Regions from separate parts of the Homo sapiens genome. Here region 1 is linked to region 2. Evidence: promoter capture Hi-C in 16 types of primary human blood cells and fetal thymus (Javierre and others, 2016). All regions are on one chromosome and are shown on one strand. The core of a region is centred on a gene start or on the middle of the fragment in contact, and the rest is flanking DNA. Distances in the headings are between cores, read along the strand shown. Region 1 holds the start of TARBP2 (TARBP2 subunit of RISC loading complex). Region 2 holds the start of DDX23 (DEAD-box helicase 23).

Region 1 (3,656 bases), core at 1,003-3,502, 4.6 Mb before region 2:
AAAAGACTGAGAAAAGAGAGTCTCAGAGAAGAGGGTATCTTTGTACCCAAGAACCAGAGGAGCAACAAACTCCAACCTGCGCGTGAAGGAAGGACATCTTGCTAGAACAAGGAGGTATGTTGGGGAGTAACTCCCTTTAGCCTCAAGCCTCTACCCCTCTCCCTCCCTAACCCAGGCCCCAACCTACTGCCACAACCCCTCTATGGGGCTAACCAACCCCTCCACCCCAAGAATTCTTCATAGCAGCAGAAGCCCTGGAAAACCCTGTTCAGGTCCAGAGGGACTCTCAGGAAGAGGCCAGGTCAGGGTGGCTAAGTGTCACCTGGCCAGGCCTCGGGGCAGAGTGGGTGGTGCAGGGCCTGGGTTCCTTGAAGGGCTTCTGGGATGCCTCGGTTCCTCCCTCACCTGCTGTCCTCCAGGGCCGGCTCCAGCATGCTCCCCCCTTTGAGGTGTTTGAGGGCCACCTCAGCTGCCTTGTGCTTGGCTGCCTTCTTGCTGGGGCCCTGACCTGAGAGAGGGGGCATGGGCAATACTGGAGGTCACTGAAAGGACGGGAAAGAAACCAGCATCCCACAGCCTCTCTCCTCGTAGCCAGAGGGAATCAATCAAGCCCCTTCTGACCAACCTCCCCCTGCTGAAGACTGGAAGTGTTTCACTAATTGCTGGAAGGAAGAGCCCTTATCTTTCCGTTAGCTTCCAGAATTAAGCCATGCCAAGCAGGACTTCTGAGCTCAAACGCCTTGGGTGGACTTCTGAGCGCAAATGCTTTAATTTCCTTTGCAAAGCACTTTCTTTTCCCTCAATAAATACAGAGAGCTGGAATAAGAGAGGGTAGGCTCTGGAGTAAAAGCCCCACTCTGCCACATACTAGGCATGTGACCATGCACCAGCCATTTACTATCTCAAACACTCAGTTTCCTCATATTCAACATGGGCGGGCGGGGGGAGGAGTCGGGGGGGCGGATACTACCACCTACAATCATTGGTTAGACTGAGGTTTAAAATTAAACGGGAATTTGGTTAAGCACCGGGAACAGAGCCCAGCACGCCAGGCACTCACTCCCCCAAATACTCCACTGGGATTTCAGTTATCTTCTCTTACTTTTCCTCTAGGGTGATGGGGATCTGCCAGATCACTGTGGGAGTCCTGCTCGCTCCTCTAACTCTCCCACGTCCTACCCACCTTCTTACAGCCCTGTTCTCCCAATCCAGTCAGTAGCTTTTCCCCTGAAATCTCTCCTTCCCTCACTGGCCTTGGAGAAAAGGACTGTGAAGAGAGAGACTCCAAGAAACAAAGCCATGGGGACCTGCAAATGCACACCCCAGCCAGGCTGCCCAAGCCTTCCTCACCAGTGCAGCTGGTGTCGCCAACGGTGACCCGGAAGGTGAAATTAGGCTGGTGGGCTTGGCCCTCGGCTTTGAGAAGGTCGTACACAGGCGTCTTCCCTATTCTGGTCCCATACTCCTGCAGAAGGCTGATCGGGGTCTTGCCTGGGTTGGCGGCCAGCATTTGCTCTATACTGGGGGAAGGGGCACAGACCCACATCACACCTCCCCTCTCTGCACCCACCTAGCCAAGCACTTCCATACCAGACCTAGGCACATTATGGGGGACATAGGGTCCAAGGAACCCCAGACAGTCTAGCATCCATTGGCTGGGTTCCAAGTGGAGGTGCAGGCTGGAAAAGTAGGGCCCACTACCCCAAAGCAAGGGGGGAAGAATGCATTGCTCCTGCCTCAGTTAAGGTGGGCACGATCCTGTGCCCCAATGCAGGTTGAAAGTGCATACCCCCTGACACAGTGCAAGCCAGGAACCCAGTACCCACCAAATGCACTGAATGTGGGGGCATAAAGCCCAGTGTTCCAGTGCAGTCTGGGAACCGGGCCAACCCCAAACTATTTAGAGCTGGAGGCAGCAGCCACTGCCCCGGTGCACGCCGGGAACCACTGCCCACTGCCCCAGTGCTTGCCGGGAACAACCCTCAGGCCAGGTGCATGCTGGGGCCGCGCCGCTACTCCCTCCGCACGGCCCCACGCTTTTCGCCCTGAAGGAATCGGTACGAGACGGCTCACCTAGGCAGCCCGCAGCCCGTGGTAGTGCCGGAGCCTTGCTCCTCTTCACTCATTCCCTCCTCCGTCCCCGCGGGCGCCACCGTGACTGCAGCCTCCACGCGCCCCAATACACAGCCGACGAGCTAGGGCCGGGGCCAAGCCCGGAGTCGCGGCCGGTAGGGCCCGCCGCGGGGCACGCTGGGATATGGAGTCCCCCGCCCACCCTACTTCGTGAGCCTCCATCTGGAGGGGAGCTATCCGCCCCACAACCCTCTGCGTGCGTGGCTCGCCCGGGCAGGCTGCACCGCCTTCTGGGAGGAGCGGGCCCTCCGCCGTCGCTTCTCGAGAAGGCCGTATTTTTTTGTTTGTAATACCGTCCCGCCTCCTTCCTTCCGCGCCCCCTCTCTCCCGGTCCGTGAAGCTGTGGACATGCGTACTAGCGGAGGGGAAGCCGCTGGGTAGGGAGGCGGTAAGGACTCACTTGGGCACGGAGCCTTTTGGATCGCGAGAAAACTACAGAACCCAAGAGCCCGCGCGCCATCTGTGTCGCAGCTGGAGAGGCAGGGTCAAGCACGCACGAGAAGCTTCATGGCGTCATTGGTTACTCCCATTGCGATTACTTCCCCTAGGTGCACTGAGATTGGTTACTTCGACTAAAGGGGCGGAGACAAGGAAAAGTCAGCCCCCCCCGACCCCGCCTCCTTGATGAAGGAAGGTTGTGATTGGTCCGGAGAGGCTGCCGTCGGATCCTGGCTCTTTGCGGTCTGGGAGGGTGGGCCTTACCTAGACGCCGGAGGGGACCGATCTCTGTTTCCGCAGGGCTCTGGAGCTGGTGCAGGTTTAAGTCCGTCTCAGACAGTCCCCTCAACCCACAGCCTAAGCCCCTTGCCCTTGGGCCTCCGTGACACAGAACTTGCTTCCTTTTCCTAGGTCGTCCTTCACCTCCCTTCAGGTGTTGCTTCTTTTGTGAAACCTTTTTAGAACCGCTCTAGTGAACCTCTCTTTAACTGGCGAGGAAACCTCTGGGGCCTGATAATCAGGCTGTAATGTGGGACGACAGGATTAGAAGGACTAGGCACCTTGGTGGTCTTGTTCCCTCTTCCATGAGTCTTGGGTCTCTCAGCTGAAGAGAGCAAAAGTGAATTTTGGCCGCCTAAGATTAATCAACTGATCTGGGTGTTGAGCAGACGCGCATTGTTTAGTCCTAGAGCCCCATTGCCTCCTCCCCCAAAGTTGCACAACCACTGGGCTGAGGGAAATCTTGTGACCTTGGAGAGAGAAAGGGAGAGACCACATTAAAAAAAAAAAAGGTTCTAATGAGTGTTCTGAGAAGGGGTCAAGAAAGATGTCTTACTCTGAGCCGGGGTTGGAGGTCCAGAGGAATCTTGAAATGATAATGAGGGGTCATCCAGGAACACTGGAGGAGGATGGGGCCTAGAGCCGAGTGAATTCCAAGTGGGTGAAATTGGAGTGAGTGGTGACAATCAAGGGAAGGAGAGCTGGCAAGATCGGTATGATAGGGGGAGCAATGCCAGAGCGCTAGGGATCCCAACTGAGGGGCTGCTCTCTCCGATGTAGAAAGGAGTCTATAAGACGGGTCATAG
Region 2 (4,259 bases), core at 1,119-3,618:
GGTCAGGGCTGCAGTGAGCTGTTTGTGCCACTCCACTTCAACCTGGGCAACAAAGTGAAACCCGGTCTCAAAAATAAATAAGTAAATAAGCCAGGTGTGGAGTCTCACGCCTGTAATCCCAGCACTTTGGGAGGCCGAGGCAGGTGGATCACGAGGTCAGGAGATCGAGACCATCCTGGCCAACATGATGAAACCCCGTTCCTACTGAAAATACAAAAATTAGCTGGGTGTGGTGGCATGTGCCTGTAATCCCAGCTACTTGGGAGGTTGAAGCAGGAGAATCGCTTGAACCAGGGAGGTGGAGATTGCAGTGAGCCGAGATTGCACCACTGCACTCCAGCTTGGCGACAGAGCGAGACTCCATCTCAAAAATAAATAAATAAATAAAATAAAATAAAAATACAAACAAATAAGAAAACAAAGATTCATGTTTGTGAGAGAACTAGTGGGGCAAGACAAATAACAAGTATCCTTGAAGCCCAATGTCTTACATGTGTCATGAGATGTGCGCACAAGTACTAGAGGAACTCTGCCACTATGAACTGGGACAAGCTTTATCACCCTCCAGGAGCTCAATTTAAAGAGAGTTGAGATGGCAGCCTGAAAATGGGGAAAGGTAATGGACTCTGAAGTTAAATGAACCTGAATTTTGGCTCCATTCTTTTCTTTTCTTTTTTCTTTCTTTCTTTTTTTTTTTTTTCCAGTCAGGGTTTTGCTCTGTCACCCAGGCTGTAGTGCAGTGGCACGAGCATGGCTCACTGCGACCTCGACCTCCTGGGCTCAAGCAGTCCTCCTGTCTTGGCCTCCCAAAGTGCTGAGATACAAGCATGAGCCACCTCACCTGGCCCATTCTTTTAACTATGTGGCCTTTGAAGGCATAATTACTCTTTCTGGGCCACAATCTCCTTACCAGTAAAATGGAGATAGCACTCATCTCATACTGCTATGAGAACTAAGTAAAACAAATAAGGTAGGTTAAGTGTCCAGCCCAGAGCTGAGCACTTAGAAGATTCTCAATAAAAAGTGGCTGCAGTTTTTGAAGATTCTGGCCTACCATGGTTGGTCTGATTCTTAGTTTAATCTGTGAATCTGTGAGTCGAGCGCCCTCTCGTGCTTTTGTGGTGAATTACACCTAACAGATCTCAGAGCTCTCTTCTTTCCCTTGCGTTCTCTCTGGAGTAGAAGCTGGGAGGTGAAAGGCTGCAGGTTCTAAGAGAAGTGTGTGTCTCCGAGGGTTACTTTGGGCCATTGTACGTGATGCTCAGGGCTTTAGGATTACTTGGGTCTATCCTGAGGCTCTGCTTGAGAGCTTGGGCATATTCAGAGAGAAAAGGCAGACCTACAGCCATGTGGAATTGAAGCAACAAACCTGCTGCTGGCAAAATGGGAAGGGAGGTCCGAGATACTTCTGGTTATCTAAACCGTTTCCGCAACTGCAATGTTTTGTTTTGTTTTGAGGGAAAGAGTTATGAACCCATAAGACCAAAGAGAAACACAAAGTGAACTTACGATTTGAGGTTAAAACAACAACAACAACATCAACAACAACAACAACAGCAACAACAAAACTCAGTGGAAGACTGAAGTAGGGGAATCTGGGGGAAGAAAGAAGCAAAAATACCAAGATAGCTCAACAATTGGTCACATTCCAAAGGGCAAGAAATTGAGGAAACCAGGGTTCCATCTGGAATGTTGAGAAAACAGGTGCTAGAGCCCAGGAGATACCATCCTTCCGGGAGGACTTTAGAGCCCATTGTGTGGGCTCATTTGGAGCTGTAACAATAACTGGGGGTTGTTATGGCATTCACCCGGCTGCAGGGGCCAAGGTTGCTAAAACGTCCTCCTAAGCCTGGGATAGTTCCACACACAATGGAGAACTGCATCACCCTCCTTGTGAACCTACTCCGGTAACCTGATCTTTAGTTTGTCCAACTGTAAAATGGGGCTAGCCCCATTCTCACAGAATTATTATAAAAACCGCTTTTCCACGAATGGTATTTATTGTTACTGCGGTTGTTAGCTATAATTACGTACTACAGATATCTCAGGAAGCCCTTAAATTCCTCCACTGTAAGCCACGGGCAAGGACAGTCATAGACCGTAGTTTCTAGGAAGACCAGCCGATTCCAAGAAGGGTGCTCGGCGGGAGAACCTAATGCCGAAAGCCTATTGGCGAAAAACTCTTCCTTCCCGGACGCTAACGTCTGGCAAACCACATTGCCCGGCAGACCCCGCAGCCTGGGGCCGGCGCTCAAGTCATGCATTCTGGGATTGGTAGTTTCCAGGCCTCAGTGTCGGCCTGTGCCGCCCAGCTCCAGGAACTCGCCTTCCCAGCTTGCCTCGCGGCCGGGGGGGTGGGGGGTGTTCATCTCCGCGACCAGGAAACGGGAAAGATGGCGACGGCTCCGCGACGTTGAGGCCGCGTTGGGCGGTTCAGACTCAGGGTGGTGAGTCCCGGGCGGTGGAGGCGGTTCCCACGAGCTTACAGAAAGGGCTAGAGTCAGGGCACGGCGGTGGCCCCTGCCTCCTGGATGAGGCGGGAAAGAACGCCTCAGAGAAGGGGCATGAACCCGGGAAGCTCGGGCGGGCTGGAGTGAAGGGGCGCGGGCCCCAGGGGTAGTGTTGGCTCCTCCGGGCACAGGCCACGTCCCTGCACGATATTTTCCTCCCAGGACTCTGCCTATGGGCACAGCGCCTCTGATACCCCCAGTCTGACCTTATTCTTTCATGCTTAAAGTAGCCTTTGGTGCAGCCAAACTGGAACTCTGGCTTTTCTCTCGCAGTCAGTCCATGTTTTCCCGCCTCTGCGCCGGCCGTATTATTTCTTTTGCCGGGAATGACTTCTTTTCCGCGTCCTTAATTACATATCTTAAAATTCTACTTATACTTAAAAGCTCAAGCGTCACTTCCTCTTCCAAGCCTTCCACATCACCTTTTACAAGTGAAAGGAAACGCCTTTGAACACCTGTATTACTACATCTGAGCCTTGATACTCTTCTTGGTATGTGTCTCATACCCCCTATTGTTCTTTTTTTTCTTTTCTTTTCTTTTTTTTTTTGAGACGGAGTCTCGCTCTGTCGCCTAGGCTGGAGTGCAATGGCACGATCTTGGTTCTCTGCAACCTCCGCCTCCCGGGTTCAAGCGATTCTCCTGTCTCAGCCTCCCGAGTAGCTGTGATTACAGGCGCACGCCGCCACGCCCGGCTAATTTTTTGTATTTTTAGTAGAGACGGGGTTTCACCGTGTTCCCCAGGCTGGTCTCGAACTCCTGAGCTCAGGCAATCCACCTGTCTCGGCCTCTTAAAGTGTTAGGATTACATGCGTGAGCCACCGCGTCCGACCTCATAACCCTGTTGTTCTAAACACTTCCTGTGAACAGAATTTATTTTTGTAACTCACATAGCACCTAGCACTGTGCCTTGCGTACAGTAGATGCTTGTTAAATACGTCATTGAGTGAAAAAAAAGAATGTGCCCCTGCCCTGCAAGAACTGAGGACCTGAAGATCTGGAGGTTTGAGAGGAAGGCTGCTGGGAAGCATGGCCAGAGTCAGCCTGGTTATTTGGCCCTTGTGATAATAGAACCTGTAATAAAAGTTGCCTGTATTTACTGTCTTCTTCTCATTTTTCATTCTCTTCCAAACTCATTCCACTCAGGCTTCCATTCCCGCAATGCAACTGAAACAGCTCTTGTCAAGGTCACCAATAATCTCCATTTTTCCAAATTCAGTGGTTACTTCCCTGTCCCTTATTCCCTCTCCACTTCGGTGGTACTTGACACAGTTGACCCCTCCCTCCTTGAAACATGTTTTTGGCTTCTTCGTTGCCATGCTTTTCTTTGTCTTTTCTCACTGGCTGCTAGTTCTTTTCAGTCTTTTTCTCTGGTTCATCCCGTGGCTAACTCCTGTTAAAGTGTTCCAGAGCTCAATTCTGGAGCTTCTTCTCTATTTTTTTTCTTTCACTATGCTGCCTACTTAGGTAATATCATTTAGTGTCCCATGGCTTTAAAAGCTATCTGTGTATTGGTGACTCAAGTTTTTGTCTACAGACCCTCTCCCCTAAGTTCAGATTTGCATTTCTCTTTGCCTTCTGGGAATCTCCACAGATATTCTCACACTCAACCTGGCCAAAATGAAACGTTTGATTTCCTCTTAAATCTGTTCGTTCCCTAGTCTTCTCCAGTTTGTTTGCTATGGCACCACAAACTATTAGGTTGCTGAAACTATAAATTTAGGAGCTATCTTTGTGTCTGCTCTTTCTGC

What was found. The method cuts DNA at HindIII sites, captures the fragments that hold promoters and counts their contacts. A CHiCAGO score of 5 or more calls a contact.
Region 1: the fragment with the promoter of TARBP2 here is called in contact with the fragment with the promoter of DDX23 in region 2 in 2 of 17 cell types (monocytes and total CD8 T cells); the score reaches 6.9 in monocytes.

What each region holds. Positions count from the first base shown.
Region 1 is chr12:53,499,879-53,503,534 of GRCh38, reverse strand. TARBP2 (TARBP2 subunit of RISC loading complex) reads right to left here and starts at 2,252. Exons shown (of 9, transcript NM_134323.2): 1 at 2,074-2,252; 2 at 1,351-1,520; 3 at 406-508. The coding sequence starts at 2,126. It also overlaps a transcript of MAP3K12 not described here. RefSeq lists an enhancer at 2,318-2,617. The HindIII fragment of the contact is 9,076 bases long and covers 1-2,638 here.
Region 2 is chr12:48,850,272-48,854,530 of GRCh38, reverse strand. It overlaps DDX23 (DEAD-box helicase 23), which reads left to right and starts at 2,368. Exons shown (of 17, transcript NM_004818.3): 1 at 2,368-2,447. LOC105369755 (a long non-coding RNA gene) reads right to left here and starts at 2,810. Exons shown (of 2, transcript XR_944925.3): 1 at 2,717-2,810; 2 at 1,982-2,481. RefSeq lists enhancers at 1,234-1,443, 2,323-2,512. The HindIII fragment of the contact is 5,632 bases long and covers 555-4,259 here.